2 separate regions of the Homo sapiens genome follow, and region 2 is linked to region 1. The links are contacts of gene promoters, found by promoter capture Hi-C in human tissues and cell types (Jung and others, 2019). All regions are on one chromosome and are shown on one strand. Each heading gives the region's core, a stretch centred on a gene start or on the middle of the fragment in contact. The rest is flanking DNA. Distances are from core to core; before and after follow the strand shown.

Region 1 (6,384 bases), core at 2,891-5,390:
GCCTCCACCACTTATTAGCTGTGCCATCTGGGCAAGTTCATTCACCTCTTTATGTCTCTGTTTCCTTTTCTGTAAAATATATCTAATACGAATCCCTAGCTTATTAAGTTGTTGCAAGGGGTGAATGATTTGGCATACAGTAGGGTCTTGTTAAACATTAGCTGTGATGAACTCCTTCCAAATCTTCATTTTCAGAGCCACAACGAGGCCACAGTGCCACCTGGAGTGTAAGCACACAAGATCACCAACTATGTTATCTTTCCACCATGGGTCCAAGGCTGGGTAGTGAAGGCCTGGAGGTTTCTCCTGCCTCTATCTTCCCAGTGCCCTCATGGAGACTTTTGTATTTTCCTCTTTACATCCCCACAGATAGGGTCCAGGTTGCCCGACACAGCTGGGCAATCCACAAGGCAGTGACCCCCTGTGCCAGCCCTGTGAGGTAGCTGGAGGATCATTGTTCCTTCCTTCTCAGGCTCTGGGCAGATGCCAGGGCTGGGGTGAACCACGCCCTCAAGTTTCTTGCTTTGGAGAGTCACATTTTCCCTTGGGAAGGAGGGTAAAGGTCAGAGGAGCCAGAGACCTGTGACCTGCTTGTGCCATGAGCCCTAACTATAAGGACCTGAACACTCTATATTAAAAGTCCAAAGCTTGGGGGCTCCACCGAGCTTCTCACCTCACGGCCTCTGCTAGGGAGGATGAATGCTTTGTCCTCCCAGAGCTTTGCGAGCTTGTAGCACACAGCCTCCCCAGCACAACATCTCTTGGAAACCTCAGACTTTGTCTTAAACATTCATGCAAATTTTGCATCTTATTTCCCATTATGTCAGCATGTTTTAGAAAAAACCCTCAACTTTCCTGAATATACAAGAGAATTTGACGTTGTAGAACATTGTGCCTTTTAAAAAAATTGTGTTATTTAAAAATTTTCCCCACCCCCCCTTCTGCCCCCCAAGACTGCCAAATCCTTTTTGAACAAATATTAGGAAATGCTTATTATGTGCCAGATATGATTCATGGTCTTGGGGATATAGCAGAAAACAAATACCTGGGTATGAAATAATCTGTACAACAAACCCCCATGATGTGAGTTTACCAATATAACAAATCTGCACCTGTGTCCCTGAACGTAAAAGTAAAAAAAAAAAAAAAAAAAGCAGTGGTTTGGGGTCTGGCCCACACTCTAATCCCCCGGAGACCTTTAAGCCACAATGTTGCCCAGGCCCCACTCCAGTGATTCTCATTTTACTGGTCGGTGGCAGCTTGGGTTTGGGAAATTCTAAATGCCATCCCCCCAGGTGATTTTACATGTAGCAGGGGTGAGAACAATTGATTCAGGGTAAAGAATGCATTCACTGTAGCTGGTTTCCATGCATACTGATGGGATTTGCCACATAGGAGCTTGAAAAATAGCTCTTCCTTATTAAAAATCAACGGACACCTCCAAGATGTACTTAGCTGTTCGGATAAATTGCTGCAGAAAAAAAGTCTTCTCAGCAGATGTATCTTTAAGTCACTTGATTTCAGAGTAAGAGGTTGTTTCAGTCACAGTACTTATAGTCAGTGTTGAAAATTATGAACAGCCTACAAATACCAAAAAGGAATGAAAGCATTTACAGACATATAGGATACATTCTGTTTTAAAATTGCTCCTCTGTTGTTGGGCTCTGATTTCCTAAAGTCATCTATCAGCCATTTCCCTCAAATTATTCCATGTCCTTCCAAGAAGCTTCTGCAATTTCTCGAGGTGATTGATTATTCCCAATGGTAAACAGCACCATATGGGTCCAAATCTAAAAGGAATTCTGCCTCTATTGCAGAAGAGTTACTCTCCAGAAACTTGCAGGCCTTGGAAAGCTGTATGAGCAGTGCAGTCTATGCAGGAGTAAGGGCTGCAGAGCCAGGCAGAGCTGATCCTGAGTACCAGCCCAGCTGCTTAGCAGCTGTGGGACTTTGGGCAAGGTTCTTGACTTGGAGCAGTAATATAAACCTCTTCTGCAAGAAAGGGTAGAATAATACTGATTGCAGAAACAGCAGCAATGCTTCATTACTCTCTGTATCTATGCTCTTTATTGTGTGCTCTTACAGCTCCTCCCATCAAGAGGCCGAATGTGTTTCCCAAACTTTGCATCTGGCTGGCACTATTTTCTCTGGCTATAGAAAACTGTTGTATTAGTTTGTTTTCACACTGCTGATAAAGACATTCCTGAACATGCGAACAAAAAGAGGTTTAATTGGACTTACAGTTCCACATGGCTGGGGAGGCCTCAGAATCATGACGGGAGGCAAAAGGCACTTCTTTCGTGGTGGCGGCAAGAGAAAAATGAGGAGAAAGCAAAAGTGGAAACCCCTGATAAACCCATCAGATCTCGTGAGACTTATTCACTAACATGAGAATAGCATGAGAAAGACCCGCCCACATGACTCAATTACCCCCTTCCCCGGTCCCTCCCACAACACACGGGAATTCTGGGAGATACAATTCAAGTTGAGATTTGGCTGGGGACACAGCCAGACCGTATCAACTGCGAATATGACAGCTTTTGTGCTAGTTTTGGGCCTAGGCTCAAAAGGTCTTAAATGCTTCTGTGTTTCTCAGAACCTTGCTATCTTTATGAGATCAAGCTATCAGAACCTTGCTATCTTTATGAGATTAGCCAGCTGGAGGATGACATACCATGGTGGGGAGAAGGAAGGTGCCACTGTTGATAGCCATCTCATCCCCAGAAGCAGAGCCACCTAGTCAACCAGCAGCTGGCCATACATACATGAAGCAGTCCAGTTGTGACAAGAATAGCTCAGTTGAGTTCAGCGTGAATGGCTGATGAACTCAATCATGAGCTATTAAGTTTTCGGTGATTTGTTATGCAATAGCTAACTAATACATGCACCCAGGGCAGATAGGGTGCCAGGATTCAATGAAAGGTTGATTCCTAGTTACCTGCAAGAAGAAAGCACTTTATAGGTACTAATTCTCCCCCCTTATTTAAAGTTGGATCTTTTGTAAGATAATGTTCCGTCATACAGAAATGCATGTACACATGTATATATGTGATTGGTGCTTTTACTCACACAGCCCCCCAACCACGGGAAGAAACAGACAATCACAGCTTGATCATTAGGGCTAAGGCCAAATAGCAAGATAAGTCTGCCTCTAGTCTATTTCCTCCATATCTAAATGTTGGAGGTCAAGGCTATGGACAGATCTGAAGATGTGTTCTCTCCTCTTAGGGCCCCATTATTGATGGGCAGCAGTCCTCTACCCGTGGATATTTTCTTTTGCTTTCCCCTATGCTCTCTAGGATCACCATCTCGTCCACCCTTCGACCGGAGGAGAGATGTTTGTAGCAAGAGGCTGTTCCCTCACCTCTGGCTGAAAAGGGACTTTCAGACCCTCCACTTCCTGACATAAGGGAGGTTAGACCTCAGAGCTGCACTTTAGTGTGGCAGCTATTGATCATGTGTGGCTATTGAATAACAGGAATACAGCTGGTCTGAACTGAAATGTGCTGAAAAGGTAAAATACAGAGTGAGCTTCAAAGATTTAGTACCCCAAAATATATACTTCCTTACCAATTGTATATTGACCATAGAGGAAAATGGTTACATACTGGGTTAAATTATTACAATCAACTTCACCTGTTTCTTAGTACATTTTAAAACGTGGCTACTAGAAAATTTAAGATTCACACATGGCTTACATTTTAATTCTTAGAGGCTTGAATCCTTTTTGAAATTTCAGGCTGTCTGTTCAAAGGACCAAAAGCCAGGAAGGCCATAAAATATAAAAATTCAAAATGATTGTCTTTATTTTCTTCTTTCCATTGGTGAATAACATATATTTATTATTTATAAATAAACATAACCGCAGTCACAAGATGAAATGTAAATATCCTCTAGGTGGGGCCGGACAGCGCAGGCAGGAAGCCCCGCTCCAAAAGATCGCGGCCAGCACCTGTCCTTGCTGTCTCATTCGGCCCATTGTCTGATTACAGCTCCTGTCACTCAGGGCCTGAGGGGGCGGGGCGTGATGCCCTATCCAATCAGAGGAGTAGGGGCGGGGACTGTCCAATCAGGCACATGTCTGGAGAGGAGAGGACGGCTTCCGGGATCTAGCGGGGCCTTTGTCCCGACAGAGCTCCACTTCCTGTCCCCGCGGCTCTGTGTCCCCTGCTAGCCGTAGGTCGTGTGACCCGCAGGCACCGGGAGATCCAGAAGTGAAACGCCAGGCTCTCTGGAGGCCAGGAGATGGTGAGTGTAGGGGCCAGGCCTCCTGAGAGACAGGGAGGGGCGGACTGGAACCCGCGGTACCGGCTCGGGAGGAACCGGGCTGCCCGGGTGGGTTCCGGGCTCCGCGGACCCGAGGCCCCTCCAGCTGCACCATGGCGGCCGGGCCCCGCGCGCCCCGGCGCATCCCTGCAGAGCGGCTTTGGCCCAAGCCCAGAGCCATGTCCCCCCGGCAGCTCTTCGCCCGCAGACCCTCGTCTCCCCGAGTCAGGAAGGGAGAATCCCGACTCCGTGGGTGGTTTGTGCATAAGAGGATGATCTGTAGCCCGTGGGGGCCCCAGTCCCTCCTTTCTCTCGAGGGAGTCCTTGCAAAAATGTGAAAGAGTTTTATTTGAGCAAAGAGCGATTCATGAATGGCAGAGGACCCAACCATGTTTTTTGGGTTTGGAGGTCCCACCAGCCGGCCTTGAAGGAAAGGCTTTTATCAGGTGCATGAGGAAGCAAACCACATTCATTCATTAGTTCGGTACAGTTACGTCATCTCCTGATTTCAGCTATCTAGGCTGAAATTTTCTGGTCCTGTAATCAGAAGTTAATTAGAGGTTTGTGGTTGACGAAGCCTGAATTTTGTTTCTGCAAGATAGTCATTTGCAAGAAACGCATCTGAGTTAGATTTTTTTTTTTAACCTAAGAACCCAGGGCACTAGAGCCACCTCAGTCGGATTGCCTGCTATTTAATTATTATTATTTTTGAGATGGAGTCTCGCTCTGTCCCCCAGGCTGGAGTGCAGTGGCGCGATCTCGGCTCACTGCAACCTCTGCCTCCCGGGTTCAATCAATTCTCCTGCCTCAGCCTCCCGAGTAGCTGAGATTACAGTCCTGCACCACCACGCCCGGCTAATTTTTGTATTTTTAGTAGAGACGGGGTTTCACCATGTTGGCCAGGCTGGTCTTGAACTCCTGACCTCATGTGATCCGCCTGCCTTGGCCTCCCAAAGTGCTGGGATTACAGTCGTGAGCCACTGCGCCCAGCCTGGACGGCACTTTTTAAGAGATTTGTTTTCTGTTTGTAATCATTCCACGTGACAGGAAAGCAGAGAATCATCCCCTGACGCTATTGTAAAAAGTCTTTGTGCCTCTCCTCCTTTTTATTTTCCCTAGGCACAGACACCTTACCAGAATGTCTTTGGTTTGAGGTTCCACTTTGGAAACTTGACAGGGTGATTTGCTCTCAGCCACCCTCTGGACTTTTTCCTCAGTTTCAGTATTGTCCAGGGATAACACAGGATGCCCACCATGGCCATGTCTGCTGGAGCATCTAGTGAATTTCAGGCCCTGGGTTATTTCTCAGAGGACAGCCTGAGGTATGAAGTGTGGCCTCTCCAGGGAGCAGCTGGATGCCCTGGGCTGAGAGAAATCTCCTGGTCTACTCTTCCTCTAAAGAGGTAACCACTTAGGACATTAAGATTGTCTTCACCCAACCCAACTTTCAATCCCTGGAGACACATGGCTGATCAGCCAATCACATGCCCCTGTCAGAGGGAAAAGACCGAAATCATTTCTGCCCTTTGGACTCTCAGATTTGTGAAGGGAGACAGAATGTTTCAAAGAGCAAGAAAAACTCCACCCCGTGAGATGGTGCAAAACCTGTAAAGCAAAATTCACCTGGGACACTCAGCGGGGCACAGTGCAGTGTATCATCGGGGGTGGCCGGTGAGCACTTCGGTGAACAGGATGGAGGTGGGAGAATCTCCCAAGGAATAGAATAGCCTGACTTGACACAAGTCATTAGCTGTGTCTGTGTTCCAGTCGGCACTGCCACTCTCTGTGTCTCCTTGAAATAATTTATTCACTTACTGCAATGTTGGATTTTTAATTGTAAATTTACATTTTATCAGTAGAGCTTGAAAGGTAAGAAAATACTTACAAAGGACATGAAATAGGTCAATTTCAGGAAAAAAGTTAAATATCTAGTCATACATACCTTTTTCTTCTCCAGAGTGATTAAGGGTAGAAAGTTACTTAGGTCTGTTCTTTTGTGGAAGATGATTTCCAACAGAATCCCAGGGCTTAGCTTTGGGAATGCTACCAGGGAACATAAAATGCTTCTTGGATGGCTGTGGAGAATGTTTACATTTTCTACAAAAAAATTATGGTAGA
Region 2 (6,384 bases), core at 1,902-4,401, 59 kb before region 1:
ATTAGCCGGGCGTGGTGGTATACACCTGTAATCCCAGCTACCCAGGAGGCTGAGGCAGGAGAATTGGTTTAATCCAGAAGGCAGAGGTTGCAGCTAGCTGAGATCACACCATTGTACTCCAGCCTGGGTGACAGATCATGGCTCCATTTTGAAAAAAAAAAAATAAAGAAAGAAAGAAAGTTAATCAGGGTGAGAATAGGATGAGTTTTTCACCCACAAAAAGAGATGAGATTCACGCATTCTTTCAGCATGCATTCCATCAATAGTGAGCACCTGCTCTGAGCTAGGCCCGTTCTAGGTCTCAGGAAATGAGTAACCAACCAGACATGGCCCCTGATTTGGAGCTCATATTTTAGAGCAGCTAAATGGATAGTAAACAAGTAAGCAAATTTAGATCGTCTTAAATTGGGGGAAGTTCTTTAGAGAAGCACTTCCATAAAGCTGAATCTCATCATAGACTATGACTGCCAGGTGGTAGGAAGGTAATATCTCGCTTGTGGATAGCAGAGCTTCTGAGGCCTTGCAAAGTATTTAGTACTAAGATTTCTGTCTTACGTCAAGTTCCCTAAAAGCAGAGCCTGAGGCAGGGATTAAATGCATGTAATTCATTCAGGAAGAACTCTCAGGAGATAGGAGTAAGGGAAACAGGATATGGCAGGGAAGGATCTGAGTGAGATGTGGTCTCAGCTGGACACCAGCTCCAGTCTGATCTCACAGGGAGCTCCAGAGGATGAACTGCACCACCATGTTATCCCAACCTAAGGTCTTTTGTTCTCCTGTGTCAGCTGGTCCCTGGCCAAGGGCTGCAGACTCTCTTGGGGCCCCAGCAGACTGGAGGAGAAGGAGCATGGTCTGTGGTCTACTCTTTTGTGCAAACCCACCCACCTCTTCCCCAGCTGACACTGCTGGAGGAGGAGAGGGAGAGATGTCATCTCCTCCTATGGCAACCTGTGGGATGGCAATGGCCCTTTTCCTGTTGGGTGTAATCTGCTGCCATCTCTTGCTGTCTGCAGCCTGACACAGAAGGGTGAAGGTCACCAGGTTCCACTGACAGCAGTCTTTGTCTCAAGCAGCAACCCTAGGACCGCGGCTCCCTTGCAAGATTCAGCCACATCTCATGACTGTCTGCAACACACCCCATGCCTTTGATGGAAGGAACCCAATGCCCCATGCTGCACCCATTTCTGCCAGACTGGGGCCCTGATCTCAATTTCTGTCTGCAGTCCCCAACTCTGGGGTCTGCAGACACATTTCACATCCATCCTTAGTACCTCCCAGGAGGCAGAAGCCAGAGGAAATAATCTTTACCCCAATGCACCTGACCATGCCACTTCACTGTATGCTCTTTCTCCCTCTCCAGGAAAAATCAAGCTTGTTGAATGCTTACCAATGTGCCCACGTGCATTTAGCCCCCACAACCACTTCATGGGGCAGCACTATCGTCCCCAAGTTACAGACGAGGAAACTGAGGAGAGCATTTATATAACATGCATCTAAGTGGTGGACAAAGGATCTAACCAGGCAGTGCGGCACCAGAGCACACATTTTTGTTCTTTAGGGAGATGCGGTCTCTCTCTGTCCCTCAAACTGGAGTGCAGTGGCCTGATCATAGCTCACTGCAGCCTTGAACTCCCGGGATCCAGCAATCTTCCTGCCTCAGCCTCCCGAGTAGCTGGGACTACAGGCATTCACCACCAACCCAGCTAATTGTTTAAAAACATTTTTCTAGATATAGGGTCTGATCCCAAACTCCTGACTTCAAGCGATCCTCCTGCCTCAGCCTCCCAAAGTGCTGGGATTACAGTCGTAAGCCCCCGCGCCCAGCCCAGAGCACACTTTTTTTTTTTTTGAGACGGAGTCACACTCTGTCACCCAGGCTGGAGTGCAATGGCAAGATCTCGGCCCATAGCACACTTTTAACCACCATATCATTCTGCCTCTGGGTAGGTCAGTCAAGCTCTGTAGCTGAGCAGATGTCTGTAGAGAGAAGGAGACATCAGTCTCCCCTTCTTCCAAACAGCCCCGAATTTTACAAGTGATTTTCTCAGATCCCTCAGCATCAGGAATGGGGATGAGCAGGGCAGCCTGTCCCCTCCGAACAGCCCAGCAGATATCCCAAGATTACATCTCATTGGCTCTGACTAGGACATGAGCCCAAAGCTGAACCGGTTGCTGTAGCCATGGCATGCAGCATCCTCGGTCCTCTGGCCAGGCCAGAGCCACATCCCACCTCCGGATCCTCGAGTTGAGTCAATACATCTTGAACCAGGCATGGACTGAAGCTCAAGGGGGAGTCAGAGTAATGTGACCCAGCCCAGCATGTAGTGGGTGCTGAGCAGGCAAGCATTCATTACCTACTGCACACACCAGGGAAGGCTTGTGGTGGCTTAGTCCCACGTGGGGGCAAAGAAAAGAGTGCCTGCTCCGTGCCAAAATGTGATGCCCAACACTGTATCTTAAAGCTAGCTGGCTTTTTAATCCCAGCTACTTGGGAGGCTGAGGCAGGAGAATCACTTAAATTCAGGAGGCAGAGGTTGCAGTGAGCCAAGATCACGCCACTGCACTTCAGCCTGGGTGACAAGAGAGAAATTCTGTCTCAAAAAAAAAAAAAAAAAAAAAAAAGCTAGTCGGCTTAATCCTTGCAAAGATGCCATCTACTTTTTGGCATTCTACAGGTAGAAACACTGAGACACTGGAAAATTTTAAAACTCACCACCAGCCGGGCGCGGTATCTCACGTCTGTAATCCCAGCACTTTGAGAGGCTGAGGCAGGAGAATTACTTGAGCCCAGGAGTTCAGGACAAGCCTGGGCAAATTAGCGAGATCTCATCTCTACAAACACTAAAAAAAAAAAAAAAAAAAAAAATTAGGACTAGGCACAGTGGCTCACACATGTAATCCCAGCACTTTGGGAGGCCAAGGCAGGTGGATCACTTCAGCCCAGGCGTTCGAAACCAGCCTGGCCAACACGACAAAACTCTATCTCAACTAAAAACACAAAACTTAGCTGGGCATAGTGGCACGTGTCTATAATCCCAGCTACTTGGGAGGCTGAGGCACGAGAATTGCTTGAACCCAGGAGTCAGAAGTTGCAGTGAGCTGAGATCGTGCCACTGCACTCCAGCCTAGGTGAGAGAGTGACACTGTGTCTCAAAAAAAAAAAAAAATAGGTATGGCGGTACATGCCTGTGGCCCCAGCTACTCAAGAGGCTGAGGTGGGAGGATCGCTTAAGCCCAGGAGTTCAAGGGTGCAATGAGGTATGATTGTACCACTGCACCACTATATATACACATATATATATGTATATGTATATAGTTATGTCTATATATACACATATATATATACATGTATACGTATGTGTATATATATGTGTGTATATATATAAAAAACACACATGCACAGATTCACCACCAACAACTCAGAAATTACCATCTCCCTCTTTTCTAAGGAATTATTTTTCATTTTGCCATCTCTGAAGTTAGAATACACCTTACAATCACTGGAATGTCACGGTCTTGTTGGCAGCATTTTTCTGCTTAGTAACCCATAAAATAATAGCACATCTTGTAACTAAAAGTGTTGTAGATGCTATGAGATCCTGGGGAAGCCCAGAATCTAACTCCACCCTGTCTGACTCCAAACACCACATATTTTCTATGTCTTTGGACTGGGGCACAGATGTAGATAACTCGAGCTTTGCTGATTGTGAGAAAGGTATGAGAAATGGCCCTGATGGAATTTTCTTCTTGTACTTTAAGGGGAAGAAAGCAGCATCATCCCACTATTCCAGGGGAGGTGCTAAATACGAGGGTGAGGCTGTCAAGCGGTCCCTGGTGGAGTCCTACACTCACCCAAACAGCAACGAGACAGAGCGGAGGGAGAACATCGATACCGTCATGAACTGCTTCAGCACAGAAGACTTTGACTTTGTGACTCTGTACTACAGAGAGCCAGATAACGTGGGACATCGATTCGGGCCAGAGGCAGAGAAGAGGAAGTTGATGATTCAGCAAATCGGCAGGACCATCGTGTATCTGGTGGGAGCCACTGAGAAGCACAGCCTGCAGAGCACCTCAGCGTCATCATCACATCAGACCATGGGGTGACCACCGTGAAGAAGAGACCCAACGTCAACAAGATCCCTTGACCAACTACATCAAGTTCAGGGTCTGGGTCAAGTTTGATATTGCGGGCTACGGTGGCTTTGGGCTGCCCCTACCCAAATTGGGGCAAGAGGAAGCCCTTTACCAGGCACTGAAGAATGCGCACCCTCACCTCCAGGTCTACAAGAAGGAGGAGTTTCCAGAACACTTCCATCTCGCTAAACATGACCGGGTTCTGCCAATCGTGATGTATGCCAACTCTAGTTACAGTATTAATGGGATAAGTTCATTCTAAAATGAATAAAGTCACCTTGGATCTAGGAGACAACCATTAGGGAAGGGTGGTTCTCAAAAATCAAACATAAGTGCACAGCCAGGCACGGTGGCTCACGCCTATAATCCCAGCACTTTGGGAGGCTGAGGCAGGTGTATCACCTGAGGTCAGGAGTTTGAGACCAGCCTGGCCAATATGGTGAAACCCCATCTCTACTAAAAATACAAAACTTAGCCGGGAGTGATGGCGTGCATCTGTAGTTCCAGCTACTCTGGAGGCTGAGGCAGGAGAATCGCTTGAACCTGGGAGGCAGAGGCTGCAGTGAGCCAAGATCATGCTACTGCACTCCAGTCTGGGCAACAGAGTGAGACCCTGTCTCAAAAAAAATATAATATAACATAATATAATAAAACAAAATAAAATAAAATAAGTGCACATACTACGAGTTGTAGCCCACAGGGTCCCAAATGTTCCCCACCCCCCGCCCAACCAATGCTGCCCCAAATTACCATTATACAAGATTAATGACCAATTCAACTGGACAAGGCTGATTTAAAAATAAAAATAAGGCTGGCCATGGTGGTTCACACCTGTAATCTCAGTGCTTTGGGAGGCCAAGACAGGAGGATTGCTTAAGGCCAGGAGTTCAAGACCAGCCCGGGCAACATAGGGAGACCCCATATCTACAAAAAACAAACAAATAAATAAATAGCCAGACATGTCAATGCATGCCTGTAGTCCCAGCTACTCAGGAGGCTGAGGTGGCAGGATTTCTTGAGCCCAGGAGGTCAAGGCTGCAGTAAGCTGTGATTGCACCACTGCACTCCAGCTTGAGCAACAGAGCAAGACCCCGTCTCTAAAAAATAAATAAAAAATAAAAAATAAACAGCAACTTCATTATTCAAAATTGTGCGTAGCGCTTCGCTAAACATTGAATAGCAGTTCTTTCATTTTTGTCTTCCCAACAACCCTATAAAATAGATGCTCTTAGTTCCACCATTTTAAAGAAGAAATCAAAACCTAGAGAGAAGTGACTTGAGATTAAAAATGTAAGCTTGGGCTGGGTGCAGCGGCTCACACCTGTAAGCCCAGCACTTTAGAAGGCTAAGGTAGGTAGACTGCTTGAGCTCAGGAGTTTGAGACCAGCCTGGGCAACACAGTGAAACACCATCTCTACAAAAAATGCAAAAAACTGTAGCTGGGCATAGTGGCACGTGCCTGTGGTCCCAGCAACTCAGGAGGCTGAGGTGGGAGAACTGCTTGAGCCCGGGGGTGTTGAGACTGCAGTGAGCCATGATCACGCCACTGTGAGATAGGAGGCAGGACTTGACTCCACAGGCAGGGCTTGGACACCAGACCAAATTGAGGACTAGCTAAAACAGGGCTGGGGCAGAAGCAGCTTTCCACCAGACATGCCCACCAATGTGCCATGTGAGTTTACTATTGCCATGGCAACACCCGGGAGTTACTGCCACTTTCCATGACAATGATCCAATGACTCAAAAGTTACTACCAATTTTCTAGAAATTCCTGCATAAACTGCCCTTTAATCTACATGCGATTAAAAGTGGGTATAAATGTGATTGCAAACTCTCTGCCTCTACTCTCTGCCTCCAGGCTAGCCCTGCCCTACAGGAGCAGTCACAGGGCTGTAACACTGCCTCTTCAATAAAGCTGTTTTCTTCTAAACCTCCAGCTTGCCCTTGAATTCTTTCCTGGGCAAAGGCAAGAACCCTCATGTGCTATTGAGAGGTGTCAGCGTTCTGGCAGCCCTGGAGCTCACTCTCGGTGCCTCCTCTGCCTGGGCTCCCAATTTGGCAGCACTTGAGGAGCCCTTCAGCCCACTGTTGTACTGTGGGAGCCCCTTCCTGAGCTGGCCGAGGCTGGAGGCGTCTCCCTCAGCTTGCGGGGAGGTGTAGAGGGAGAGGCGCGGGCGGGAACCAGGGCTGGGCGCGGCGCTTGCGGGCCAGCGCGAGTGCCGGGTGGGCACGGGCTCGGCAGGCCCA

Evidence for each region. Contacts are between HindIII fragments. The study calls those that stand out against the background at their distance.
Region 2: a contact is called between a fragment that was not itself captured here and the fragment with the promoter of ZNF195 in region 1, in 1 of the 25 tissues and cell types used here (H1 embryonic stem cells).

The regions. Positions count from the first base shown.
Region 1 is chr11:3,376,902-3,383,285 of GRCh38, reverse strand. ZNF195 (zinc finger protein 195) reads left to right here and starts at 4,140. Exons shown (of 6, transcript NM_001130520.3): 1 at 4,140-4,248. The coding sequence starts at 4,246. It also overlaps the pseudogene TSSC2. RefSeq lists enhancers at 3,893-4,187, 3,876-4,439 and a silencer at 4,365-4,434. The HindIII fragment of the contact is 6,782 bases long and covers 1,188-6,384 here.
Region 2 is chr11:3,435,242-3,441,625 of GRCh38, reverse strand. It overlaps the pseudogene ENPP7P15. Among named protein-coding and RNA genes, the nearest start is that of ZNF195, 59 kb to the right of the region's middle. RefSeq lists a silencer at 3,891-4,059 and an enhancer at 5,863-6,384. The HindIII fragment of the contact is 6,241 bases long and covers 31-6,271 here.